7 separate regions of the Homo sapiens genome follow, and regions 1, 2, 3, 4, 5 and 6 are each linked to region 7. Evidence: promoter capture Hi-C in 16 types of primary human blood cells and fetal thymus (Javierre and others, 2016). All regions are on one chromosome and are shown on one strand. The core of a region is centred on a gene start or on the middle of the fragment in contact, and the rest is flanking DNA. Distances in the headings are between cores, read along the strand shown. Region 1 has its middle 2.4 kb from the start of ZC2HC1C. Region 2 overlaps EIF2B2 (eukaryotic translation initiation factor 2B subunit beta). Region 3 overlaps MLH3 (mutL homolog 3). Region 4 overlaps NEK9 (NIMA related kinase 9). Region 5 has its middle 11 kb from the start of PGF. Region 6 overlaps NEK9 (NIMA related kinase 9). Region 7 holds the start of JDP2 (Jun dimerization protein 2).

What was found. The method cuts DNA at HindIII sites, captures the fragments that hold promoters and counts their contacts. A CHiCAGO score of 5 or more calls a contact.
Region 1: a fragment that was not itself captured here is called in contact with the fragment with the promoter of JDP2 in region 7 in 1 of 17 cell types (monocytes); the score reaches 5.8 in monocytes.
Region 2: a contact is called between a fragment that was not itself captured here and the fragment with the promoter of JDP2 in region 7, in 1 of 17 cell types (monocytes). The highest score is 5.8, in monocytes.
Region 3: a contact is called between a fragment that was not itself captured here and the fragment with the promoter of JDP2 in region 7, in 1 of 17 cell types (monocytes). The highest score is 6.5, in monocytes.
Region 4: a fragment that was not itself captured here is called in contact with the fragment with the promoter of JDP2 in region 7 in 2 of 17 cell types (monocytes and neutrophils); the score reaches 6.8 in monocytes.
Region 5: a contact is called between a fragment that was not itself captured here and the fragment with the promoter of JDP2 in region 7, in 1 of 17 cell types (monocytes). The highest score is 5.4, in monocytes.
Region 6: a fragment that was not itself captured here is called in contact with the fragment with the promoter of JDP2 in region 7 in 1 of 17 cell types (monocytes); the score reaches 5.9 in monocytes.

What each region holds. Positions count from the first base shown.
Region 1 is chr14:75,065,222-75,069,307 of GRCh38, forward strand. It overlaps a transcript of ACYP1 not described here. Among named protein-coding and RNA genes, the nearest start is that of ZC2HC1C, 2.4 kb to the right of the region's middle. RefSeq lists an enhancer at 4,063-4,086. The HindIII fragment of the contact is 1,393 bases long and covers 806-2,198 here.
Region 2 is chr14:75,010,355-75,014,207 of GRCh38, forward strand. It overlaps EIF2B2 (eukaryotic translation initiation factor 2B subunit beta), which reads left to right. Exons shown (of 8, transcript NM_014239.4): 8 at 1-2,012. It overlaps MLH3 (mutL homolog 3), which reads right to left. Exons shown (of 13, transcript NM_001040108.2): 13 at 3,421-3,853. Among named protein-coding and RNA genes, the nearest start is that of EIF2B2, 9.4 kb to the left of the region's middle. The HindIII fragment of the contact is 2,787 bases long and covers 1-2,655 here.
Region 3 is chr14:75,047,148-75,051,162 of GRCh38, forward strand. It overlaps MLH3 (mutL homolog 3), which reads right to left. Exons shown (of 13, transcript NM_001040108.2): 2 at 1-2,571. The coding sequence starts at 2,508. Among named protein-coding and RNA genes, the nearest start is that of MLH3, 2.3 kb to the right of the region's middle. RefSeq lists a silencer at 3,933-4,015. The HindIII fragment of the contact is 495 bases long and covers 2,113-2,607 here.
Region 4 is chr14:75,101,120-75,104,887 of GRCh38, forward strand. It overlaps NEK9 (NIMA related kinase 9), which reads right to left. Exons shown (of 22, transcript NM_033116.6): 14 at 2,723-2,878; 15 at 538-646; 16 at 1-34. Among named protein-coding and RNA genes, the nearest start is that of NEK9, 24 kb to the right of the region's middle. The HindIII fragment of the contact is 3,965 bases long and covers 1-3,768 here.
Region 5 is chr14:74,964,288-74,967,938 of GRCh38, forward strand. No RefSeq gene overlaps it. Among named protein-coding and RNA genes, the nearest start is that of PGF, 11 kb to the left of the region's middle. RefSeq lists an enhancer at 948-2,147. The HindIII fragment of the contact is 2,632 bases long and covers 822-3,453 here.
Region 6 is chr14:75,080,839-75,085,032 of GRCh38, forward strand. It overlaps NEK9 (NIMA related kinase 9), which reads right to left. Exons shown (of 22, transcript NM_033116.6): 22 at 1-3,848. The coding sequence ends at 3,726. Among named protein-coding and RNA genes, the nearest start is that of ZC2HC1C, 13 kb to the left of the region's middle. The HindIII fragment of the contact is 8,341 bases long and covers 1-4,194 here.
Region 7 is chr14:75,425,997-75,429,941 of GRCh38, forward strand. It overlaps JDP2 (Jun dimerization protein 2), which reads left to right and starts at 2,026. Exons shown (of 4, transcript NM_001135048.2): 1 at 2,026-2,256. It overlaps JDP2-AS1 (JDP2 antisense RNA 1), which reads right to left and starts at 1,659. Exons shown (of 2, transcript NR_184172.1): 1 at 1,474-1,659; 2 at 1-715. RefSeq lists enhancers at 795-894, 1,145-1,474, 1,495-1,554, 1,522-2,079 and silencers at 1,745-2,014, 2,265-2,444, 2,505-2,674. The HindIII fragment of the contact is 6,934 bases long and covers 1-3,446 here.

The sequences.
Region 1 (4,086 bases), core at 252-2,751, 360 kb before region 7:
GTGGATTGACTGTATACATTACACCTCTTCATAACGTAAAGACTCCTTATGTGAATATGCCAGGTTGGCAGACTTGACAATGAGATATGGGTTTGTGACAGTAGGCACGGAAATTCATCATTCTGCTAGTTCCCCGCTAGAGTGAGGATCCATATCCTAGAGAATCATACAACCTTAGTGCTGAGAGGTGGGGGGTTGGTGGTGAACAAGCTGGATTGAATGTTGTACTTGGCAATATTTGAAAATAACTCTAAATAGAGTATCTTGCTAATGGTATTTCTTTCTCTAAAATTCATTTAAAAAATAGTTTATAGAATTCAAAACTTACTGAGTGTCTAATACGAATGGGGCACTCTAGGATATACAAAGATGAATGATATAAAATCTTTGCCCTCAAAGAGTTTTTAATTTAGTGTAGGGGCACAAATGCATGCAAATAATGACAATAAAATATATGGCATGATAATTTAATTCCATGAAAATCCATTGAGAGCTCATCAGGAACCAGCCCTGTGCTATAACAAGGACAGAAAATATTACAAAGGAGCAAACAAATTAATTCTGATTGGGAAGACAGGGAAAGAGTTCTTGGAGGAAACAGCATTTAATCCAAGGTCACACAACCAGTAAGTGATGGAGCTGGGATTTGGTTCCAGAGTCAATCCCCATGAATGCTATGCTCTACCAGCTCCCAGTATGTGGAGCTTAGAGTAATGTAGTACCATGGAGATGAAGAAGTACAAGTAGCCAGTTGTGGCTAGACCAGGGGTTTGCTACCCTGCTTGTGCATCAGGATCTTTGGGGAAGCTTTAAAAATGTTAATCCTCAGGCCTCACCCCTAGATATTGCTTTCCAAGTAGTCTTAACACACAGTCAGGGATGAGACTCACTGGGTTGAACTCTGTGGCTTATTAAGGGGAGGCAAAACTGAAAAGGTAGGCTGGACCTAATCTGGGAGGTAGAGATGCCATGCTAAATTATGCATTTCAACTTTATTCTATAGGTAAAGAAGAAGCTACTGGGGAGGGAAATGGTAGGATCAGAAGCATTTAGTAATTAGCTTGATTTAATCACTGCACAATGCATACATTATCAAAACATCACTTTGTACACTGCAAATATAGATATAATTTTTGCTTGTCAATTATATTTTAATAAAGCTGGGGGGGGGTGGAGAAATATTTAGACTGATTATTTTGCCTGCAGCATGAAGGATGGGTTTGAAGAGCAGATATTGAAGGCAAGAGCAGAAGTTAGGAGGGCTATGCCATCCCAAGGAGAAGTGAGGAAAAACTCACCTGGGGCAGCAGAAATGTAAAGGAAGAGTCATATATGAGAGACATTGCAGAAGTAAACTCAATAGGCCAGGCGTGATGGCTCACGTTTGTAATCCCAGCACTTTGGGAGGCTAAGGCAGGTGGATCACCTGAGGTCAGGAGTTTGAGACTGATGAAACCCCATCTCTACTAAAAATACAGAAATTAGTTGGGCGTGGTGGTGCACACCTGTACTTCCAGCTACTAGGGAGGCCAAGGCAGGAGGATTGCTTGAACCTGAGAGGCAGAGGTTGCAGTGAGCTGAGATCGCGCCACTCCACCCCCATCTGGATGACAGAGCAAGACTGTCTCAAAGAAAAAAAGGAAGAAAACTCAATAAAACTTGTGATTAGTTAGAAGGAAGAGGCAACAAAGAGGGAAGCATGGAAGACTGATGCTGTGAGCATGCAAGGGCACACTGGAGAGGCAGATTTGAGAATGGGAGAGGATCAGAGTTTATGTTGTCTTACAGAATTTGAGGTTCCTAAGGAACAATCTTGTGGAGGTGTCAAATGGGCAGTCCTGAAATTTGAGTCTGTAACTAATGAGAAAGACTAAAGCTAAGCTGGCTGTCATTTAAACACAGGTGAAACCTGAAATTTCAGCATTTGGTTGAAATCATTAAAGAAGAGAATGTCTGGAACTACACACACACACACACACACACACACACACACACACACACACACATATATATGAAATAAGAGGGCTTCAGAAAACACTTAAATTTAGGGAGTAGATGGGGAAAAGATAAATGCCAGACTTGGAAGAAGATGGAGCAAGAACATGAAAGAAGAAACCAAGAGGGCACAGGAGAACTGAGAAGAGCATTCTAAGTGGGTGGATAATCAGTAATGTCACATGAGTAGGCTGAAAAAATGAAGCTTTTGTCTTTGGAAAGTCACTGGTAGCTTTGTAGTTAAATAAAGTGGAGAAAGTAGAAGACAGGCCACAATGAACTGGACAATGACGGGGAGATGAGGATATGTGGGCAGCAAATGTGGAGATTTCCATTAAGAAGTCTTGTGGAGAAGAGGAGAAATGAATGGGACTGTAATATGAAAGTTAGGTCAAGGGAAGTAAGGTTTGTTTTGCAGGGGAAAGTTGAGTATATGTTAAAACCAAAGAGACAGAGTTTATGGAGAGGTATAACTTGAAGTTAACAAGATGCAGACAGGGTGCCGTCTCTCACGTCTATAATCTCAGTACTTTGTGAGACTGAGGCGGGAGGATCTCTTTTGACTCCAGGGGTTTGAGACCAGCCTGGGTAACAAAGGGAGACCCTGTCTCTACAGAAAAAAAAAAAAGAAGTAAGCTGGGTGTGGGGGGCACACACCTGTAGTCCCAGCTACTCGGGAGGCTGAGGTGGGAGGATCACTTGAGCTGTGGAAGTTGAGGCTCCAGTGAGCAGTGATTGTGCCACTGCACTTCAGCCTGGGCAACAGAGTGAGGCCCTGTCTCAAAAACAAAGGCCAGGCCCGGTGGCTCATGCTTGTAATCCCAGCACTTTGGGAGGCTGAGACAGGCGGATCACCTGGGGTCAGGAGTTCAAGACCAGCCTGGCCAACATGGTGAAACTCTGTCTCTACTAAAAATACAAAAAATTAGCCAGGTGTAGTGGCAGACGCCTGTAATCTCAGCTACTCGGGAGGCTGAGGCAGGAGAATCACTTGAACCCAGGAGGCAGAGGTGGCAGTGAGCTAAGAGTGCGCCACTGCACTTCAGCCTGGGCAACAAAACAGGGCGAGATTCCGTCTCAAAAAACAAAAAACAAACAACTTTAAAAAACCCCAAAAACCAACAAAACAGAAAACAAAACAAAACAAAAATGCAGGGGTAAAGTGATGGAGTCAATTCCCGGAGGGTACTGAAAAGGACTAATTCAAGAGAACTCAATGGAACTCAATGGAAAGTCGCCCTTCTTTCTCATAGAGGAGAGGGAAGGAGAGAGAGAGAGGAGAGAGGGAGACAGACAGAGACAGAAACAGAGGAGAGAGGGAGAGGAGGAAGAAGAGAGAGAGACAGAGAGAGAGAGAAAGAGAAAAAGAAAGCCGGTAAATTCTGCTGAGGGAAGCTGTGGGAGTTGATAATCGGGACCCTGAGTGGAGTGGGAAACGTCTGGAGCTGCATATACGGAGAGGCGGTAGAGTCAACTAGGGATGAAAACGAGGAATTAAAAAAAAAAAAAAGACTGATCTGGAGGGTCCACCAAGGAATTTCCTTGTAACGGGTAACAGCTGTAATATGACATGTTGAAGTATTAACACTGATGACTGCTGTCTACATTATTTTCCATGTGCATGAATTGAGTAGTTACAGGGAAAAAGCGAACTGCCTGTTCCAAACGGCTTACACAGATGAACTGAAGCGAAGAAGAAAAATGAACTTTCTTTTGATGTCAACAAGATAGAGTATCATTTACTGTTGAAGCCAGGTTATACTGATTATTTTCGATCTGGTAGTTAACTTTATCATCATTACATTTGGCTGAGTCATTCCTGGGCCCTAAGTAGAGACGGCTAGAATTACCACGTGAGTAAAACATTATAATATCAAAATAATTAGATTGGCCACAAAAACTACCACGGAAAGATACTGCGTAGCAAAAACGTTGGCAGCAAGTTCCAAAGCCTTGGCGAGGACAAGCAAGGAGCGCGCGCGTGCAGCCATACCTGGGGCCCGCCCAGCGCAGCCGAGCGCGCGGAGAAAGGCCAGCAGCAGCCCCGCTCCCGCCAGGCGGGCGGACGCCGGCATCCTGCGGCGGAAGCAC
Region 2 (3,853 bases), core at 12-2,511, 420 kb before region 7:
GTGTAGTAGTTGTAATGTCATAGCCTAAGTGTCCAGCAATAGGAGAAAGGTTAAGTATTGACAGTTACACCGTGGAACATTATACATGGCAATAGAAGTTTCAAAAGGATGGCTGGAGGGGCAGTGTCTGGATTGAAGGCATTTGGGCTGGTTCACTGCATTTAATGTGAATTTGTTACCAATATTTAAAAATCTGGAGATTGCACATTTCAAAAATTCAGATTTCTTGCTTTTCTTGAAAACTCAAATTTGGCAACTCTGGGCCAACATTTCCAAATGGCAGTAGTTAGTTTGTGGTTGGGTAACATCTGATGCCATTGGATGGAACATCTCCAGTTTTCTGCAGTTCCTACTGGATCCATTTAACTCATTTATGTTATCTGCCTAACCCCTGTAGGCATTTGAGTTGTGATCCTGGTGTTAAAAGAATGGGACAGATTTGCAAGGAAGTCCATTTGATACTCTGTTAGTTAAAAACAAGCTGGGGAAAAAAAACACAACAAGCTGCAGAGCAATATGCATAATACGGACTCATTTCCATAAAACAACACTGGCTGGGCGCAATGGCTCACGCCTATAATCCCAGCACTTTGGGAGGCTGAGGAGGGCAGATCACTTGAGGTCAGGAGTTTGAGACCAGCCTGGTCAAAATGGCGAAACTAAAATACTATAATAAAATTTTTAGTTCCACTAAAAATACAAAAATTAGCCAGGTGTGGTTGTGGGTACCTGTAGTCCCAGCTACTCGGGAGGCTGAACTTGGGAAGTAGAGGTTGCAGTGAGCAGTGCCATTGGGCCACTGCACTTTAGCCTGGGCAACAGTGGGTGAGACTCTGTCTCACAAAAACAAAACAAAATTATATGTACACGCATAGGGAAACAGTATAGAAGTATAATACCAAGCACAGCAAGCAGAGGGACATCCTCTAATTTTGTTGACATGTTTATGCTTACATATTGTTTCCGGTTTTTAACCTAAAAAGTCTCCCAGGTGATCCAGATTTTCTGCCATGTTTAGGAACTAGTGGTCCAAAGCAGGGCCTCTTGTGCAGTGTCTGTGTGGGTGGAGGGAGCACTAAGAATCTGCATGTTTAACAAATAGCCTGTGGGCTTTGAACAGGTGATTTGAAACCACATTTTGGTTAACACTGGGCAGAGGTAGGTTCTGAGGGAAAGGTCTCTATTCTTTGATATCTCTTTGAGAGCGATCTTTGCCTTAGGTCTTCCAGAGAGGGGAAAAAAGTAAGACCTCAGAAAGTCGGCATTTTACACTGACCTAAAAGCTGTATGACTCAGAAGAGCCTGACTCACTCAGGCTCAGTCTTTCTATTATTTCTTAAAGCATCTAAGACCCCACGCTTTCTCAGTGAAGTGGCTTGTAGCTACCAATTACGAGCAATTGTCTCCTCCAAAGGCACCAATTCTAACAGCAATTCACTTGGGTACAATTGTGTGGTTTGGAGTAAGAGCAGCAGTGAGGCAAGGAACTTAAATCTGTTCCTGGCTCCAAAAATGCTTTATGATACTTGTCCTTTGTCCATCTTAGTCTCTGTGTCTAAAATTAGCACCAACATCCTTCCCAGGCATGACTGAGTTGGATGAAGGTTATAAGGGTAGAAGCTCTCTTTCTGGTCAGCTCTTACAGTGCCTAGAACAGAACTGCAGGAATGCATACTTTTTAGAATCTTTATGACCCCAATTAAGTAAACCCTATTAAGGCTCATCTTCTTATTTCCCCTCTCTCCGTTTCCCTATTTGAGGAGGGGTAAGTATCAGAAAGAGAGAACCTGAACTGAACAGGAGGAAACAGAAGTTCCACATCAACTCACTACCTGTCAGCCTTGGTATCAGGGGTGCCCACCTCCCACCCCTGCCTTGCTGGCGGAACCGAGAAACTCGGAAAAAAACAAACAAAAAAACAACTGTTGTAGCTTGGAGAGAATTAATAGAACTAGGATTCCATGGATGTGAAAGTCTTCCTCAATATGCTAAATAAACCAAGTTAGATAACAGTGCAGTTTGTAAAGACACTTTTTTCCCACGGTTTCTATCTTCCAGTTTGGGCAGAGGGCAGGAAAGGCACAATTCTTGGAACTTGAATAAGGAACAGAAATTCCTAATTTAGCCTCAGAAGAGACATCTCTGAAAAATACTCTACCAGGAAAAACTGAAGTGTAAAATGATACCTCAAAGAAATCAATGCTGGAACCCATAGGATCATATGTTTCATGGATGTGCTTCAAAACTATTTCTCAAAGCAATCTGTTGCATCAGTCTTTGGGCTAATGAAGGCTGCCAGTCACAGTTCCATCATGGAATGACTGGCATACTCTGTAATGATCTATAATACTACAACTACATCAGAACTGCTCTGCCATACAGATAGTACCAGATGGTGATGTGATTATTGTAAAGGCCTCACACTATCCACCTGTCCTTGCAAAAACTCCCTTAGCAGACATGCACCTAGTTGACATGAAAGAACAATTTTGAAATGTGATTTGGAAGTGTTTTATATCTGGCCTACTTTGCTTTGAATTATTCTTTCATTTGCCAAAGAGCTCTTGCAAGGTACTGCACAATGGCTAGGCAATTATTATTATTAATAGTAAAAACTGCAATTGCTTTTGCACCAACTTAAAGAGCTAAAGTCTAAGCTTCCAGTCTCCCAGCATCCCTCACACGATGGAGGGCAGCACTTGAGTCTAATCATGCTTGAGATGGTGATTGCCTGATATGTATATTAAATACTATGCTGAAGAGACGGATCCTTTCAATAGTGTTTTTTTCAAGCATGTTACATTTAGAATTAAGACCTGCCTAGAAAATAAGCTACTTAGTGCTGAAGAAACAAAAACTTGACAAGATTCCTAAGTTATCATTTATATGTAATATTCTTCCTACAACACTGGGTTTGGAAGGATAATAAATACATAAAAATAAAATTCTGCAGTTAATATGAAAAAGAGGTAATGCAGTGTTGAATAATGAGAAACTGCTAATTGCGGTAGCTAACTCCAAGCCACTTTTTTTGGACTGCTCGGCCCATCATGGGGCATTCCTTACTTTGGAAGTAGATAAGAGCAAGTTGGAAGGCCAGAGTCAGGCAAGGCTGGCCAAATCCCACTTCTGCAGGCTGCTGCTTGAATCATCCTGGCCTGATAGATTCCCACATGCAGCACACTGCGATTCCCACACGCTTGGATCCGGTTGCCTGGACTATATCCGATGCTTCTGGGTAAGACTGAGTGCTCTGTAACTAATGGGCCTGGGGTGAAAATGATCCAAGGGTTGGAAACATCCTAAGCCATGTGATAACCTCTTTTTTTTCTTTATATCCCCCACAAGTTCTGATACAATACATTTAGAAAGGAACTCACTGAAGATTTGCTGAATGAAGAGAGGGATGGAAGGAAAAAGGAAGGAAGGAAGGGTTTATTTGATGCAGATTCTTCAGCATTTTGTTTTCACAGACTCCCTTCTTTTCCCCTCTTCTGGACCCACCTTTTTGCCATCTCACCGTTGATGAGCAGCTTCAGCTTAGAGGGTAAAGACAGGCATGATCGCGACTGGCCAGCATACTGGCCGGTTCTCTCTGTTAGCAGACTTTTGCCAAGGGTTTGGATGGAATGGGTGGCTCTTCAGGTGGAAAACAGGTCGTGGGGGTCAGGTTTTGGGTGCCTGAAACTGCTCTTCCTTCACTCCACTGTGCCATGACTGGCTCCCACCCGAAGCTTCAGCTGAGCTGGCTTGTCAGGGCTCGCTAGGAACTGCTGAGCTGCATCTGTCCTTACTTGGCGTGGCTTCCTCAGCCCCCTCCACATCTCAAGAACGTGGCCTTGGGCCCCTTTCT
Region 3 (4,015 bases), core at 1,110-3,609, 380 kb before region 7:
TTCATCCTTGGAGAATGGAAACTTCTCTGAGTTAAGGATGTGGCTTGCTGGTTGACAACTACTATCTGAATCACTATGCTCCATAGTAGTGATTTTACAAACATCAGAGTTCTCTAAGCGGTTCTTGTCCTTCAGCAGAATGTCAGGTTCAACTTGAAGACTGAGATTGGTAGTGACTCCATTACTTTCCTCTACTTCTGTATCCAGAGGATTTTCAACCTTCCCATATTGCCTCTTAAACTTCTCTAAAGATCCTAGCTGTGAACTCAAGCTTAGCTTCTTACGGACGATTGGTTTGGAGAAACCAATTAATTTATCTGTTTTCCTACTATCATTGGAAACGTGTCTATACCAGGGGAAAGAGGGGGATGTATCAGATAATATGCAATCTGTTTGTGATTTTTTGCTACCTTCCTGAAAAGCAGAAAACATTGTATAAGTTGCTGTAGGTTCATTCTCTAGCCCATAACTTATATTCGTTCTGCAATTTTTTTTGTTGGGCAATTGACCAGATTCTTTACTTAAAGTGCTGGCTAAATCTTTGATGTCTGGAGTTTCAACTGAATGACGTGTTCTATTTCCAAATGTTTCTTGGGCACGTGTGGGACCAGGTCTAACATAATTTTTAAATGAATGTTCTGTTTCAGTTGATTTAGTTTTTTCATTTTGTACTACATGAGTTATAAAGCCAGTGGAACATAATTTAACTCGCCCATAACTAAAAACATTTCTTCTTCCACAATTGCTAGATTCTTTTTTTTTCTCTTTCTCTGTCTGAGCACTATGTACTCCCCATAATGTTGTTGCAAAAGGCAGAGGCTGGCATCCCACTTCAGTAGCATCTTTAAATCTCTTTGGTTGATTCTGAATTCTATTATTTTTCAAGATGTTGGCAGCCATGCCATTAACAGTAGTACTTTCTTTCCATATTTCTAGATCCTGCCCACTCTCCTCAAAGTGACATGGTGTCTGAAAAGGGCTTAAAAACATTTCTAAACTGGTTCCACACGGATTTTCTAAAGAGCTATGTTCCAGGAAAGATTTTTTATGTTTCTCATTTTCTCCAGCTTCTGATGCTACAATTGTCTCTTGTTCTAACATCTTTGATTCTGAGCAAGAGCTGTCTTTGTTTTGTAAAGATGGCTCTGTCATTTTGCTATGGCCTGGACCACCTGATTCATAAATGTACAAAAATGCATCATTTGTATTTTTTCTGGTAGCTTCTGAATCCCTAGAACTCTGTGTGTTTACGTTTTCTGCAGTAGTTTTTCTTTTCACAGCTTTTGACTGCAAATTAAACATCTCATAGGAATCTAAAATATTATTACATGCTTCCTGGAAATTGCTCCTCTCATCGGAAGTCACACGCTTCTGAAGAGTAGCATCAAATAAACTAAAACCATTATCTTCACTAAATTCCTTAATATCCTCACCTGATAATTCCACAAATAATTTTTCTTGCTTTAAAAACATTTTCACTCCTTCCTGAATGCAAAACAAGAGAGTGTCCCAGTTCTGAAATTCAATCAGAGTTTTGGCTGGCTCCATGCACACATCATACTCACAGAATTGGCACTGCACATTAATTACATATATGCCATAGAGTTCTGGGGTAGACCGGTGCCGAAGACTTGAATTCATTTGCCTACTGGTGGGACCATTCTTTGGCTTGCATATAATACTTTCTTTCCTTAATAAAAAGTCAATGAGTTTATGTAGCTTTGTCCTTAAAACTAGTCTTTTGTTCACAAACAAAAACTGCATATTCTTGTTGTAATGTGCTTCAGAGCTGATATAGCCACTAAGCTCAAACTCTTTATATTTAAAACTTATTTCTCTTAGCTTTTGGGACTTTCCCAATCCATAAATTTGACAAAATCGGGAACATACGTCTTTGGTTTTAGGGAGCTGAAGAACCATGGAACCAGAAACATCATTTCTCAAAGAGAAAGAAATGGAAGGGTGCATGAGTGAGAGAGCTTCTATTCTCTGCCTAACCTTCTCAAACTCCAGTCTAGGGTCCATGCATTTCCTCCTTACAGGAAGCTGGTAAAATAGGTTATACACTGTTACAGTAGTCCCAGCGCTTGCTCTAGTCACATCAGCTTCACAAGCTTTCAGGGCTTTTCCACTCTGAAACAGTTTCACAAAAGTTTTCATTGTCCTGTTTTTCTTGGACGAAATTTCCACAGCACTGGCCATGTCAGCAATATTTGCCAAGGCCTCTCCTCGGAAACCATAAAACCTTGGATTCTCCAAGTCCTGTACCGAGTGGCATTTACTGGTGAAATAACGATTTCCCACTTTCTCTACATCATCACTCCCCATCCCAAATCCATTGTCTATCACTTGAACTTGGAAGGTTTCCATATTCACCCTGACAGCCACACATTTTGCTTCAGCATCAATACTGTTGAGGGCAAGTTCCTCAACACATTGGCCCAAGGAGCTTATGGCCAAACCAGAACGCAATTTGGCTTGTACTTCAACTGACAAGCACTTGATCATGGTAGGTAGAAAGATGGTGAGAATGCCAGGCACTGGTTTCCTTCTCTGACTGGAAATAATTGCCTATTGGAGAAAAAAACCACACACGCACATAATCAAAGCTTTAGCATTACACAGCATTATGAAGAAATAGCACTTGAGGTAAATGAAATCACTCTTATTAAACCAAATTGTGAAACAAAGCAAAACAAAGTTATACCGCTGATCTCTAGGCACAGCTCATGCTTGGTGCAATGGATTAACATCCAAAAAAAATTCATAATTTCATAATTTTCAATGCTCCTTTCTAAATCCCACATGTCCTAAAGTGAAATCATAATTACACTTGAAGTTGACCAGTAAACACAGTATTCGAAATTCTAACCACTTCACCAAAAACAGATGCCTAAATTAAATACAGCTAAGGAACATTAGCTAGAAATTATTCATGACAAAAATGTCCAAGCTAGTTTCATAACATTTATACATTACACAATAACCATGACTTTTAGAAAAATACTTATAATGAATTGCTAAGACATTGTAATAAGGTGAAGCAATAGGAAGAAATTTTAAGAATCAAATTGTATCAAAGAGAGATTGGGGGCATTAAGAGGTTATTATTATTATGGTTAAGTATAGTCACCTCAGGGAAAGAGGCTGGGAATGGGAAAAGATAAAGCAGGAAAATTCCTTTTCATATAAACCTTTCTTTGCCATTTGATTGTTAAATCCTGTTCATGTATTACTCTGATGTTTTTAGAAAGTCGTTATTATTCTTTTTTGAAACAGTCTCACTCTGTCACCCAGGCTGGAGTGCAATGACACAATCTCGGCTCACTGCAGCCTGCACCTCCCGGGCTCAAGCAATCCTCCAGCCTTAGCCTCCCGAGTAGCTGGGATTACAGGCGCTCGCCACCATGCCTGGCTAATTTTTGTCTCTTATGTAGAGATGGGGTTTCACCATGTTAACCAGCCTGGTCTCGAACTCCTGAACTCAAGTGATCCTCCCGCCTTGGCCTCCCAAAGTGCTGGGATTACAGGTGTGAACCACCGCGCCCGGCCAGAAGGTCATTATTAATATTCTTTTGGTCTTTACAGATGGGCATAAACTACCTTGGTAATAATAATGATGGCATGGGGCTGCCTGAACTTGATTTTAAGTTTTCCTGCAAGTGAAAACACAAAAACAAAAAACAAAACAAAAAAAACCAAACCCTAAGATTCCAGTGCCATTAAAGGTCTCCCCTTCTTCTCCATCAGTGAGAGCCACGTGGGTGGGCCCCTGCAGGCGGTGGGGCCGGTTTTCCAAACTCGGGACAAATCAGGGCTCTTAACTGCAGAATTTCTGCTGCTTTCTAAGCTAATGCACTAAGCAGCCGGCAGCAACTGACGGGTAAACGTTTAACAAGTATTCCGATTAATGTAAACCCAATGATTTCCTGATGACGCCTCCCAGCGCCTGGGACTGACGGGACGCACGGGCCTGGATCCAGGGCACGGGGGCCTGGGAGGGCCGCGCGGGCCG
Region 4 (3,768 bases), core at 578-3,077, 330 kb before region 7:
TTGTTGCAGCCAAAGGTCAGCAGCCGGCCTCGCTCTGAGAGAGAAGCAAAAAGAAATAACAAGGCACAAATGAGTCCTGGAACCCAGAGAAGATGCAGCCAAGCAGACTTCATGGATTAGCTTCCGGTTGTTAGAATATACAAATATAAAACTAGCCACATGATCCTGGACCTAGGACAAATACAGTATCTAGGCACTATAACCAATTAGATCCAGTCAGCGACTCGATATTGTATTCTCTCTCCAGTACTGTATTTGTAGTGAGAAAAATGAGTACTACCTTAGAATACTTATAAAAGGTGCTAATCAGAGACAACAGATGTCTGGAATCATAGGTGTGGTGTTCTCATAAAAGGATGTATTTATTATGCATTTATAATAATTATCAATAAAAATATGTACCTGAATACATTAATGAAATAATACTAGATTTTCAGGGGAAATCGGGATGATATACATATAAAGAAAACCTAATACCTGATAGAATAAAAGAGGCTCAGCTACTAAGGCATGTGATACAGTTGTAAATCAACTTACCATCAATAGCAGCTGTGTGAGTCTTGCCTGGGGCAATGGTACGGATCTTATAAAAGGACAACTGTTTGGCCAAGGTAAAGGACGTTGTGTAGGGAACTTCATGGTATGCCTGAAACAAAATAAAACACAAAGCAGATGCATGAGGTAAGAAAATCGAAGGAAAATCAGGCTGAGAATGGAAAAAAGTCCTGGTGACCAAAAGGCCTTTCAAGTAAGTTATATTACTAAGAAGAGGGTGCCAGGTAGTTTTCCATCTCCAACAGAAAACAAGAGGAAATAAGCTGAATATGTAATCAGAGAATGCAGCACATGAGGCAGAACTTTCTGACAACCAAAGTTTTAGATTCTGACTTAGGGTTTATAAAACATGAACTTTCCATCCCAGAAGGTATTTATATAAGGAGAGAATCGTTGACATTTACCTTGGTTATACACTCTGCATATCTAACAAGGGCAGGGCAAAGAATTAAAGTCCTGAGGACTGTCTCCAGCCCATAAAGGAATCAGCTTACTGTGATCTAATTTCATCTATAGGGTAGTGTTTCTCAACTTAATTAAAACTCATGTTCCCTTTGAATTAGTATTAAAAAAGAATCCTCTCATTTAAGTTTAAAATTTCACAACAAATCCACTGCTATAATGAAAACATAAATCAAGTAATAGTAATTCTGAATATTGTTTTTTTTGTTTTTTTATTTTGTTTTGTTTTGAGACGGAGTCTTGCTTTGTCGCCCAGGCTGGAGTGCAGTGGCGCGGTCTCGGCTCACTGCAAGCCCCGCCTCCCAGGTTCACGCCATTCTCCTGCCTCAGCCTCCCAAGTAGCTGGGACTACCGGTGCCCGCCACCACACCTGGCTGTTTTTTTTTTTGGTATTTTTAGTGGAGACAGGGTTTCACCGTGTTAGCCAGGATGGTCTTGATCTCATGACCTCGTGATCCGCCCGCCTCAGCCTCCCAAAGTTCCGGGATTACAGGCGTGAGCCACCGTGCCCGGCAACTGAATATTTCTTTTCAAACTACAAAGACACTCTCTCCAGCCTTGCCCTGAATTTGTACTCTCCTAATTGAAAATCACTACTTTAGAGATTGCTTAAAAATTAATTCTTACCTTTTTCATTGAGTCAGAAAACTTCTGTCTCTTAATTTTATTCTTTGGAAAATGACAAAACTCATTATATTAACACAAAAAGGAAACTAAGACGCAGCCATAAAAAAGGATGAGTTCATGTCCTTTGTAGGGATATGGATGAATCTGGAAACCATCATTCTCAGTAAACTATTGCAAGGACAAAAAATCAAACACCGCATGTTCTCACTCATAGGTGGGAATTGAACAATGAGAACACCTGGACACAGGAAGGGGAACATCACACACCGGGGCCTGTCATAGGGTGGGGGAAGGGGGGAGGGATAGCATTAGGCGATATACCTAATGTAAATGACGAGTTAATGGGTACAGCACACCAACATGGCGTATGTATACATATGTAACAAACCTGCACGTTGTGCACATGTACCCTAGAACTTAAAAGTATAATAAAAAAAAAAAAAAGGAAACTAAGACAATATCAGTGGTGAATTTGCTAACATTTTTGAAGACAGAATGGTAATTACATTCGATAAGCCTAAACAGGATCAGTGATTTGGGAGAAATCTAAAAAACTCCAATCAATCAAAAAAACTCCAGGAAGGTGATGCATGGAAATATGTTTTTTTTTATAACATTAATTTGCTTGTTCCTATTTCAATAAGGTAAAAGCTGAATTTCATCATTTTATTCTTTGTAATCAATTTATTTGTTGAAGTATAACACACTGCAAAATATCACACAGCTTGACACATTTTTCTATATACATATACTGGTAAAACCATTACAGATCAAGATATAGACCATTCCCATTACTCTAGGATCCCTTCCACCTCTTCTGTTAATACCCCTCCTTCAATAAGTAGCCACAGTTTTGATTTCTGCCAGTATAAGTTAATTTTGCCTGTTCTTAAATTTTACACAGATAGAGCTATATAGCATGTACTCTTTGTGGCTGGCTTCTTTTTCTGCACACAATGCCTATGAGACCATAACTAAAGTCAAATTCCATGGTCACTAACCAATAATGGCATCTCAAAGAAATTCCAACCTAGAGAAATTCTGATGATGTGGTTAGAACACCAATCAGGACACTCACTTCATGGTTGATAATTCCCGACATGCACTGATTCAGACCCAGCTTATTGAATTCATTGAGTCCACAGGCCAGCACTTTGCCTGACTGGGTCAACAGAAATGTCCCATCACAGCCACATTGAACTGCAACAATAATCAAGGCCTTGGGAACATCCACCTGCAAGAAAAAAATCAGAAAAAGAAATCCCAAATATATAATTCGTATTAGAAAAAAAGCTCTCAAATTCTTTCAAAAGAGACATGCTGCATTTAGCAGAATGACTACAGGAAAGTGAGGACTGCTCTATTCTTTTCAGGTTTGCCCAGTGTCTTAGAGACTACTTTTTCTTTTTTTTTTTTTTTGAGATAGAGTTTCCCTCTTTTGCCCAGGCTGGAGTGAAGTCGTGCGATCTTAGCTCACCGCAATCTCTGCCTCCCAGGTTCAAGCGACTTCTCCTGTCTCAGCCTCCCAAATAGCTGGGATGACAGGTGCATGCCACCACGCCCAGCTAATTTTTGTATTTTTATTAGAGATGAGGTTTTGCCACGTAGGCCAGGCTGGTCTCGAACTCCTGACCTCAGGTGATCTACCCACCTTGGCCTCCCAAAGTGCTGGGATTACAGGTGTGAGCCATCACGCCTGGCTGAGACTACTATTTTCTTTTCTTCTTTTTTTTTTTGAGGTGGAGTCTTGCTCTGTCGCCCAGGCTGGAATGCAGTGGTATGATCTCAGCACACTGCAACCTCTGCCTCCCAGGTTCAAAGCGATTCTCCTGCCTCAGCCTCTTGAGTAGCTGGGATTAAAGGCGTGTGCCACCATGCCCAGTTAATTTTTGTGTTTTTAGTAGAGACAGGGTTTCACCATGTTGGCCAGGCTGGTCTCGAACTCCTGACCTCAAGTGATTTGCCCGCCTCGGCCTCCCAAAGTGCTGGGATTACAGGCGTGAGCCATTGTGCTCGGTCAAGGCTACTGTTGTCAACGAAGAGCTCAAGTTTTACAATATCAAAGAAAAGGTGACAGTTCCAGGTCAACTAAACAAGACAGCACCCTCTCAGTTTGTCTTAGTA
Region 5 (3,651 bases), core at 888-3,387, 460 kb before region 7:
GGGAGCAGGAAAGGGGTCAAGAAAGATGTGACCTGGAGAAAGTAATGCTTGTGTAGCATCTTACAGGACGGATTGAAGCTTATGAGGAATAGAAGGGCAGAAAGGGCATTATAGTCAAGGAGTGAAGCTGGACACAGTATGGGTTATTTGAGGAACATCTAGGAATCTGATGGGGCTAGACTGTGTGCAGGGGAGGGGAAGGGCTATGCCTGGAGGTGAGGCTGGCTGGGGTCAGGTTGTGAAGAGATTTGAAGACCAGACTGAGAGTTCACAGTTTATTCCAAGGGCTCTAGGGAGCCATCGCCGGTTCTTGAGCAGGGGAGTGATATAGCCAGATGTGTGTTTTGGAGAAACAACTGAGGACAGGTGAAGGGTTTGTCCCAGAGGCAGGAAAACAAGATCTGTGGTTACTGCAGAGCTGAGTGGCCTGAATCAAGACAGTGACCGTGGGAGGAGAGGGATGGGACCCAGTGTCATCCTGATAAAATAATTTGTTTCTCAGCCTTTTTTGGAGCTGGCTGTGGCCTTGGAACTACGTTTTGGCCAATCCCTGACCCCTTAGAATTTCTTAGGGTCTGGGTGTAAGTGAAAATGTTGGGCTTGACCTTTGGGAAGTATCTTTAAAGGAAGGAGCATGTTTCACTGCTTCCCTATCTGCCAGACATTGCCTGGAATTCAAACCTGATGGTAGGAGCTCTTGCAGTCATCCTGGGCCATGAGAATTATTTGCAAGGAAATTGGTACCCTGAAAACTGTGTGGAACTGCCATACCGGCCCTGACCTGCTTACATCCAGAATTATTATTATGTGTTGGAGAAATAAGCTTCTATCTTGTTTAAACCACTATTATTTTGGAGTTTTCTATTAAAATGTGCTGTTTCCCATTTTTGCCTTCTAAAGGTGAGAAAATTAGTCCCATGGTTCTATATGAGTGTCATAGAGAAAAGATTGCATTCTTCCATGGCTCCTCCTGGGAAGTGAGTCACATCAGTTTCCTGGGAAGAACTGGGCTCTTCCATTCCCTCCCAGTTTGAAGCAGGAACGAGGAGGCCACAGCTAAGGATACAGATGTTGTGGTCCAGCTGAGCTAGACCAGCCTCCCCAGATGCATCCCTCCCTTTCAGCTCTCATCTCCCATGGAGCACAGGAAGGAAACTGTGTTGGGGGCAAGGGGTGCAGAGGGGAGCCGGATTAATTCCACTTATGGTTGGATCTCCAGGGGTGGAGGAGACAGAAAGTCTAGCAGAGCTTTCAGCAGACAGACAGTGGACCTCCAGCTGGCCCCTCGGGCCTTGGACTCTTCTATGAGTCAAAGAACACTTGGCTGCTTCTCCAAAGATCCTCCTCTGCCTCCAGCTTCCTTCATCTGAAAGAGCAAGGTCTCGAGTCTATAGCCCAAGAGATCCTAAGGGACAGGATTGGCCCCTACTTTGGGTGTAATGAGGTGGGGGTGGGAGGGCGTGGGGTGAGAATGGAGGTGGAGTTGGAAACTGACATCTGTGATTTTACTCTCTTACTTTCCAGCTCTAGCTTCAGGTCAGGAAAGCTCTGGGGAGTCCAGTTCTCCCAGATGATGAATTCAATGCTCCAGATGACATCATGCACCTGAATCATTTCCGTATCTTTCTTCCAGGAGCCTGCAGAATTCCCTGGAACCCATATTCACCAAGCACTTACTACATGTCAGGGCTCATGTATACATGTGTGATCTTATTCATTTCTCACAACGGGCTTGAGAGGTTGGCATTGGTCCCACTTTAGTGATGAGAATCATGAGCACAGAGAGGTTGGGTAACTTACCTCAGGTCACCCAGCCAGTAGGTGGCTGAGCTGGAACTTGAACACTAGTTATATGATGCCAGACCATGCTTTTTGCATTAGACATTGCCGGGGTCCCGTGCTGGGGAAGGCCTATGCTGAGGTCACAGGGGGCAGTATATTAGTCCATTTTCACACTGCTATGAAGAAATATCTGAGACTGGGTAATTTATAAAGAAAAAGAGGTTTAATGGACTCAAGAGTTCCACATGACTGGGGAGGCCTCACAATCATGGCAGAAGGGGAAGGAGGAGCAAAGTCACGTCTTGCGTGGCAGCAGACAAGAGAGCGTGTGCAGGGGAACTGCCCTTTATAAAACCATCAGATATCGTGAGACTTACTCACTATCACGAGAACAGCATGGGAAAAACCCACCCCCATGATTCATTTACCTCTCACTGGGTCCCTCCCACAACACGTGGGGCTTATGGGGGCTACAATTCAAGATGAGATTTGGGTGGGGATACAGCCAAACCATATCAGGCAGTTTGCAGGTGATCCCACACCCGGATCAGATTGTAAAGGAGGGGCCCAATTCCCCCTTTCCAGGCCTCCTGCCTCTCATTCCCTCGTAGCACCTCCCTTTTTTCCTCATTTTTACTTCTGGTTGTCTGCACTGGAAAGATTTTCAGTGACAATAGATTTGTGATTCAACCAATAATAGTATTAATAATCTCTTATAGAGACGTATGATTTCAGACTCCTTTCATATACTTTGTGCTGGAAACACCGCTGTGAGGCAGATGAATGAGGTGAGGGAGACTCAGAGAAGCTGAAGAACTTGTCCAGGCCCACACAGCTAGCAAGGTTAGAGGTCAGAACCAGAACTCAGGCTCCTGGTTCCTTATGCTGCATGGAGTCTGACTTCTGATCTCAGTCCTCTTAGCACTTTTTTTTTTGAGACAGAGTCTTGCTCTGTCATCCAGGCTGGAGTGCAGTGGCACGAGCTCAGCTCACTGCAGCCTCAAACTCCTGGGCTCAAGGAATCCTTCTGCCTCAGCCTCTCAAGTAGCTGAGACCACAGGGGTGCACCACCATGCCTGGCTAATTTTTTTATCTGCAGAGCTGAAGTCTTACCATGCTCCCCAGTCTGATCGTAAGCTCCTAGGCTCAAGCAATCTTCCTGATTCAGCTTCCCAAAGTCTTGGGATTACAGAACCACCTTGCTTGGCCACTTAGCACTTTCTGAATGACATCTACCTTGTTCCAGGCCCTGTGCTGGGTACTGGGAGAGATTCTGAGGCTTAAGACACAGTCTCAGCCTTTGAGGAGCTGAAAATTCAGCAGTAAAAGAAAGAAAAGCCAAGGAATCACACGGAGACAGTAAAGCAGCAATTGGCAGGGGTCTCAGAAGAGTCCCTTGGAGGTATCACTTCTCCTAGGGATGTCTGCATCTCCCCAGAGACCAAAATTATCAATAACCATGTGCCACAGTCATGCTGCTTGCCATATCCAAATACCATCTCTATTAGTCTATTCTTGTGCTGCTAATAAAGACATACCCAAGACTAGGTCATTTATTAAGGAAAGAGGTTTAATGGACTCAGAGTTCCACATGGCTGGGAAGGTGTCACGATCATGATGGAAAATGAAGGAAGAGCAAAGGGACATCTTACCTGGCAGCAGGCAAGAGAAAGCTTGTGTAGGGGAACTCCCCTTTATAAAACCGTCAGCTCTCGTGAGATTCACTATCACGAGAACAGCATGGGAAAGATCTGCCGCCATGATTCAATTACTTCCCACTGAGTCCCTCCCACGACATGTGGGAGTTACGGGAGCTACAATTCAAGATGAGAGTTGGGTGGGGGCACAGGTGAACCATATCGCCATCTG
Region 6 (4,194 bases), core at 1,488-3,987, 340 kb before region 7:
ACTGTGTTAGCCAGGATGGTCTTGAACTCCTGACCTGCCCACCTCGGCCTCCCAAAGTGCTGGGATTACAGGCGTGAGCCACCGCGCCTGTCCTGCCAAGACAGTATTTTTTTTTTTATTTTTGAGATGGAGTCTCACTCTGTCGCCCAGGCTGGAGTACCGTGGCGCAATCTCAGCTCACTGCAAACTCCGCCTCCTGGGTTCACGCCATTCTCCTGCCTCAGCCTCCAGAGTAGCTGGGACTACAGGCACCTGCCACAACACCCAGCTAATTTTTTTGTATTTTTAGTAGAGACGGGATTTCACTGTGTTAGCCAGGATGGTCTCGATCTCCTGACCTCGTGATCCGCCCGCCTCGGCCTCCCAAAGTGCTGGGATTACAGGCGTGAGCCACTGCGTCTGGCCCGAGACAGTATTTCTTAACAGCAATGTATGTAATGCAGCACAGCACCTTCTGGCCAATGTTTGCTTTCATTATCAATTTATCACTCTCCACAGCTACACAGGTGGTAACAGAGATGTGACATAGTGGAGTTTTTCTCCCTAATGTTCATCATTCTGTGAGGTTTAATGATCAGCGTGTTTATTTCCACAGTTAATCATTGAAACAATAAATGATTTTTGGCTTTGCAGCAGTTAGGAACATGTTTTATAGTCCTGATTATAGCCCACTCTGCCCTGACCATCATGAATACTTTTTTGGAGGTTTAGGGATTTCATGTGAATGAATTTATTTAAAATGTATTCTTGCCCCTGAATTGTTCTATTATGAATGTTTGTGAACATATGGCAAGTGAAATGAAATTTTTTAGTGTACTTTTGCTTTAAACTTCAGTGAAATGCTCAGCCAAGAGAAGTTGTAACTTGGCTGTGCTATGCCAGGGAGACCAAATTCAGTTCAATCTCTTTGAAGGAAAAGTTTTACAAACCATAAACTGGCATTATCACTTGGAAAGGCCCCCACTGAGACTGAGGAGGTAGGTACAAGAAAGGATCATCCTTCTTTTAGTGGCTCATTTTTTCCCTCCCTCTGCACTTTCGGCACTTTTAGACATTTTTGGGAAAAAAGCTGTAGCAGCAGCAATGATTCTGCTGGCAAGAATAAGAAACTGGAGAGAAGCAAAGAATATTTCTGTGCAGATGTCCCTTGCATTGTTTCTGTTCCAAGAACATTATTTATATAAAGACTCACAGAATCAAAGATTCACGGAGGCTTAGAATCTGGATGTTTTATCCCCAGAGACTAAGGTCCATGCACAGGCTTACTGAAGCACAGTACTGATTAAGAGCTTAAATGTTTATTTAAAACAGAAATGCCAAACCACTCCACTCTCAACCTTTCAAGCAACCTGGCTAACAATAAACTAGTTCTTCTGCAACAATGTTAGAGCAGAGGAGTAACTCAGGTTATACTGTAACTCAAAAGCAATACTACTAGAAAACTTAAAACACCTAGCACTGCATAAAGAAAAAAAGCAGGACAAAATTTAAAGAGAATTAGCTACAGAAAACCATTCAAAGGCATTTCTACTGCCTCATCTTTTACTCCATCCCCCTTTGAACTGGTTTCTGTTTGCATACTTGTTTGGTGGGAAAAAAAATCATATGGCTGTCCCAGGCACAATATGGGAAAGTGCAAACTGTCTCTAAGGCACAGAACTTAGATTCTCAGCCAGATTAATAGCAAATCTAGACTTCCCAAGGGAATATGCTAGAGAAAATGACCACAGCGTTCCACTGCTAGGGAAAGGCTCCCCTATGAACAAGACCAGGGCACTCACCCACCCCCGGCACTCACTTTCACCCCACCTTCTCAGCAACCTGCCCATGTCCATCAGCTCCATGGCAGAAGCAATCCTCATGATGAACACCCAAACTGACCCAGCCTCTCAGGCCTGCTGAGATGATGAGCATGAGGATACAGGGACATGACAGGTCAATCGGTCCTCAAGAAAATCAAAGTTGCATTTACATGCTGAACCAAAACCCACTGTTACAGTTTATGACAACCCCCGCAAGTCCCCAGAACTTGCAACTTTAATCAAAGTTTGGCTGCTTCCCTTATTTCAAGAAAAGGTTTCAGTGATTACATTAGTACTAATGTACTAGGCTTCCCAGAACTGAGAAAACAATGGGAACATCAAACCAAAGAAGATCCCATTGAACAGAGTTGCCTGTCCCGAGCAATGGGGTTCTCCCCAAGCATCAGCCTTTATGCCACCAGTTTTGGAGAAATGGCAAAATTTCCATTGCACAAGACCTCCCACAATGTTGATAAGATTATCAAACATTTTGGTCTGGGGAAGATGAAACAAAATTAATTTAGCTGTTTATAGGAAGGTGGGATGTGAGACTCATCAAAGGTAGGATGTGTGACACAAAATACCACAGGAACATTTTACAAGGCTAGGTGGAAATACAAAGCTCACATCCTTAAGGAAACCATCAAATACTTGCCTAGAACTTTCTATATGAAGTTTTGTTCTTCTATGACACTATTTCTCTTTGGTAAAGCTAGCTTGTTTCTATCTACAAAGACACAGTGAGTACAGGATTAGAAGTGAGCTCTCAGCCAAATTCCTTTTGCAAGTTCTACCTGTTCTGTTAGGCTTCAGGGACTCCCAGGGTTTGGTGCTGGCTTTGGGCCACTCAGGTAGGAAAAATGATACAGATTCATTCGTTACCACATGGCTTCATAAAACACCAAAAGGGGAAAAATACTGACTAGACATTCAGAAAGAAAGTGGTTGGGGCTGCTGATATCAAGATCAGAACCCTAAGAGCCATGAAGGCAGAGGCTCAAAGAAGTCTTTTCATGGGCAGAAGACTGAGAGCCCTCTAAGCCCTCTCTAAGATACCAAGTAGAGGCAGCTAAAGGAGGACCTCTTCTCCTTCATGATTTTCTCTTAAGGCTATTCTGACTGCCCCATGGACTCAATTCTCTGAGACACCTCATCCCTCAGAGACACCTCATCCCCTCATCCACAGTTAGGAAATCCCACCCTGCATTGGTCACAGCCTGAAACACCAGCTGTGTGATGAGGAGGGTCCTGCCCTTTCTCTATTCCTCACTGAAGAAATTTCAATCAACCCTCAGAGGAAAAGCAACCTAAGCCTACCTTTCCTCCTAAAGCATTTAGCTGCACAGAGTAACTGAACTTTTTCGAAACAAGCCCTAGATTGACTCCATCAGACATATTTTCCTGGACTCAGGGCTCCCAAGAGGGCCAGACTACTTCACCACTCTGCAGAGGACACTGGGCGGGCCACACCTGATTCCAGCCCACTCCAACTTTACACTTCTCCCTCTCCCACCCAGAGGGGTAATGCCTGGTACTGAATTCCCAAGGCAGCTTCCAATCAATGGTGAAAATGATACATGGGATATAAGCTGCTACCAGCGCAATTAAGGTGAGCACTGTGTCTCCTCTTCAAAGGTGGGATCAACAGATGAGGTACAGAGCTGCTGTTGCTATGGCAGTCACTGATGACAAAGCCAGGGCCATGGGGGCCCTTCCATTCTCCAAAACAATAAAATCACTCCTAGATCCTATCTAAAAGGCAATGCCACTCTCCAAATGTACAAGGAAAGTGCTTCAGAGCCTCTGCCTTGCGCTCCTTTTCTGCAAGTGAACAAAGCCAGGAAAGCTGCTCTCTGCATTCGGTAAGTGTGCTGTGAAGTTCTTTGGGTCCCAGTCTCCTGGGGGCTCTACAGGCTCAGGAGACTAGAGGCTGGGTCTACAGGAGTCTGTTCCCAGGAGGCACCAGGAATCTGAATCTAAGTCAGGCTTTGGATCCATTTCCATCTCTTCCTTTGCTGTCTGAGTTCCTTTGGAATGCATCCCCACCTGTCCGGATAAAACACGGTTCCACATTAGCAACAGTGCCACCTAGTCACAGAAGTAGTTCAGTACTATATTTTCAATGCCAACTTCTAAGGCATTGGCTAAGGCGTGGCTAAGGATTTGTAGCCACGATCTTGTGAGACGCTCATGGCACTATTTTAGATACAGTCCATACCTTTATATTTACTGCAGGTAGGGTGACCAACTATCCAGGTTTGTCCAGGACTGCGGGGTTTCCTGGGATGCAGAACTCTTAGTTTTAAAATGGAAAAAGTCCTGGGCAAAACAATCTTCTCCCTGCTATAGCTGCCAATCTTACCTTGTGTGTGTGTGTGTTTTTGAGACAGGG
Region 7 (3,945 bases), core at 776-3,275:
GAGGCAGTGACTACGTAGAGGGGCCTAGTAGGGAGTATGTGGCGGAAGGGAGGCCTTGAAGCTGTGTTCTTATAGCGTCCTATATGAAACTGAAAAGCATCAATAGCAAATAACAGAGAAGATCTAATGGAGATTATAGAGAGGTAGAGGGGACTAAAGGCCTCCCAAGTCACCCCTTGGTGCCACCCCTGTAACATATTTAATTTGTGGGGGAAGCAAAGGCCCAGTAGGACTGCTGGTGGCCCAGCCACAGTCCAAAACAGGCCCTAGAGAGGACGCGCTCTAACCACACACCCTAATTATTAGTCCCTGAATATAGATCAGTTTAGTTTATCCAAAGCCCCAGCTGAAGACACATCAAGTACTATTGCCTCTGTTCCATGTTTTGTTCCATATAAACATCCAGACACAGGTCTCATGGGAGAAACATCATGAGGCAGTTTCACAGTCCCTGGCTTTGATCTTTACGCTGTAGTAAAGGTGTCATTGGCCTTTCTGGGGCGAAGAGTCATGCTCTTCCACAAGAGTATCAAATTACTGCTCATTTTCCAATGTATATTCTTTCAGGGCCTTGCTTTCTTCTTACCTGCCCACACCAATGCTGTGAGGGAGACTGCTGATGGCGAAGGTGAAAATGGTCAGGCAATGTCATTGGGACTTGGTCTGTCTCTCCTTCCATTAGCCCACTTCTTTTATCCAGAAAGATTTCACTGCACTGGGGAAATAAGGAGAATAAAGTCTCATGCACTCACTCACATGAGAGAGACATGCATGTTCGGGTTTGCTCAATGGCACCCATCTGTCTCAAGTCTTGTTGTTTCTTTCACTCTGAGCATCTGCACTCCAAGAAGGCATGAACTTTTTCTTTCACTTCCTTTCTTCTATGGGTGATGACCTGACATCACTCTCAGAAGGAGGCCGAAAGTCGCTGAGTATAAAAATCGTCACTCCTATCTGGCTTAGGCAGAAGGTAGGGGGCTCGATGGGTACCCAGGAGCTCTGGAGGTAGGAGATGCCATCTAGGGAACCCCGTTCTACCTGAGGGCTCTGTGTCTCTGCCTTTGTATACTGGAGGGCACCATGGATGTCGCCTTCCCTCTGGAGTCCCCTTCACCATTTCCTCTCTAGAAGGATGGAAGGTGGGAGTGGGGTTGGCTATTGAAGCTGGAACGGGGAAGAAGGCCACTTGGGGTCTGCTGAGGGCTGGGTCTGCTCACTGCTGTGTCCGGAGTGGAAAGGAGAAGCCCGCTGGAGCAGGGTACAAGCCCAAGGGTCAAACTGCGCCAGCAGTAGAGCAAGCCGCGGTCTCAGGCTGCAGCCCTAGCAGAGGTCAGGCTGGTGCAGCCAGCCGTCTCGGGGCCTAAGGGCGCTGGCGGGGGCCGGTGGGTAGGGGTAGGAGTCCCCAAATGCCTTCATCTCAGCCCATCCTTCTCCACCGAAAAATAAAGCAGGCTGGCGAGATCGCCTCCTCACCCGCTCAGTCCTGAAGTGTCCAAGGATGAAACTGTGCGGAAATTCTCCCTGTCGCTCTCAGTTTGTGGGGGAAGCGCCGGGACTGAGGTACATGGTTAACACAGGCTGTGCGTGAAGGGGCTTTTGACTTTTCCCCCGGCTCCGGCCTCTCGCGTCTCTCTCCTAGGGCTGCGGCTGCTGCTGCCTGGCGGGCACAAGCCGGGCGGCGGTGCGCGGGGGGTGCGCTTACATAACCGCTCGCCGCGTCCTGCTTTCTCGAGCGCTCCTGCACCGTGGGGTGGCGGAGCCGGGGGACTGCATGGAACCCGGGACGCCCCCGCGGGGAGAGGAGCGCGAGCGGCCGCGGGAGGAGGGCGCCCAAGGCGGCGGGGGAGGTTAAGGTCAGTGGGTGTGAAGCGCCGGCTCCACACCCCCTCCTCCCCGGTCCCCTCCTTCCCTTCCTCTCCGTCCCCCTCTGACGTCTGGAGCTGGCAGCTCGGCCGGTTCCGCATTCCCGACCCCTCCCCGCCGCCCAGGGGCCGCTATATAGCCGGGGCTGATGCAACCCGTCCCGCCGCCCGCCACAGCCTGCGGGAGGGACGCTCGGCGGCCGCGACGGGGGGCGCTGGCGGCGGCGGACGCTGCAGCGGCGGCGGGGCTGGCGCCGCGGCGGCTCCCGGGCCGGGACAGGCCTGGGCACCGGGCGGAGCTCCGCGGCCGGGCGGCAGCGGCGCGGAGCGGGCACGGCGCCTGCAGCCGGGCCCCGGCCCCGGGGGCGCCGCCTCCCCCCGCACCTTCTGCACGGTGGGTGCGAGGGCGCGCGCTGGGGGCGCCGGGACGGGCGGGGCGGGGCAGGGCGCGGCGCGGGCACCTGGGACGGCCGCCCCCGCACGGGCGGAGCGCGAGGAGCCCCAGCCCAGCCCCGCGGGGAGGCTCCCGCAGCCCAGGGACCTCGAGCTTTCCCCGCGCCGGGCGCTGCAGCCGGGCCCCTCCCGCGAGGCGCCCGGCAGCCTGAGGCTTCCTTTTGGTTCCCGCCCCGGGACGGGAGGCTCCGTCCGCTCCCTGGACAGCCGGGGTGCTCCCTCCTTCTCCCTCCCGCGCTCTCCTCCCCCGTCCGTTTGCAGGGAGGTGCTCTCCTCGGGCGGCGGGGAAGGCGGGGTGAGTGGGGAGAAAAGTGCCCGCGGAGATGGGCTGTGCGGGTGGAGGTGGAGGGTGAAGGGCCAGGGAGGTGCGGGGTTGGGGTCGGGGTTAGATTGTGGAGGGATGACAAGGACCTCCTGGCAGTGAGGAAGCGCGACTCCCGGAGGACCCGGACCCGGAGGAGAGTATTGAGAAGGGCTCGGGATTTCCATCCAATGAAGGCAGCTTCTCTCATGGCCATTGCTTCGGAGCTCTGGGCTGGGAGGGGATCTAGGGGTGGCCGGGGTCCCCTTTGGGCTCTCCTGTCTCCCACGCCAGGTTATATAAGGAGGCAAGCAGGCTCCTGTAGGTAACCAGCCTCTCCCTTGCCCAGCCCAGCTTAGAAGGCTCTCCTCTGCTCCTCCCTTCAAAGGAGGTTGTCGAGGGGTAGGGGTGCAGTGGGGGGTGGGAGAGTGTAGGGGTGGATTGGGCCTTCCACCTGGATCCCTGGACCCTGGGATGGCAGAGCCAGGCTTTGCCTGGGTCAGTAGGAGGAGCAGGGAAGATGAGGAGGCTGGGGAAGATGGGGAGGTCCTGGCTCTTTTGCAGGGATGGAGAGGCTGGTGGAAGGAGAAATCAGCCGACCCCCTTGGGTCATCTCCAGTTGCAAGATGGCGTGGCCCTTGCCCAGGGTGCTGCCCTCCCTGTTGGAATCCAGGGCATGGGGCTATGGCCCGACCACGTGTGCTCAGGGCAAATGTGCTCAGGTCTATATCTCAGAAAGGGCTTGCAGCCTGCTTAGGCGTGTGTACCCAGGCTTAAATCTTGGTGGTCTCTCCCTAGGGTCTTAATTGGAGGAGCATCAGGAATTGGGAAGCTTTGAACCATGTTTGGGTACATTTGTACCCAAACGTCCTTTAAGCCCTTGGTAGAAACTGCATTCGCGTATCATCTCCCTTCCCCCCAACCTTCCTTCCCTGAGGGTTTTAAAAAACACTTCCCATTGCTTTTACCTTTCCAGCAAATCTGGCTGCAGCTTGGATGGATAGCTTATCTTCCTTTGCAGGTTTCTAGGGGAGAGTTTAACCAGGTATCAGGTGTGAGCATGGCTCTGATTTTGTATAAACCTGAGGATCGAGGAAGAGAAGCAAAATCTATTCTCACACCTCTGGGTGGTTAAGGTTTTGCCTTGTTTAGAGCAGGGAGGATGGATTTCTCAAAGACTCTTCTGTTCCCTTCTACTTTGGCTTTGGTTCAGAGCTGCAGGCAGCTCCAGAATCTTCCTGAAGAGCTGGGTGCTGTGTGATTTGAAGGGCTGCAGGAAGTCATGGGTGTGTAGACCTCTGGCTTTTCTCCTAGGTGGGCTGCAGGAAG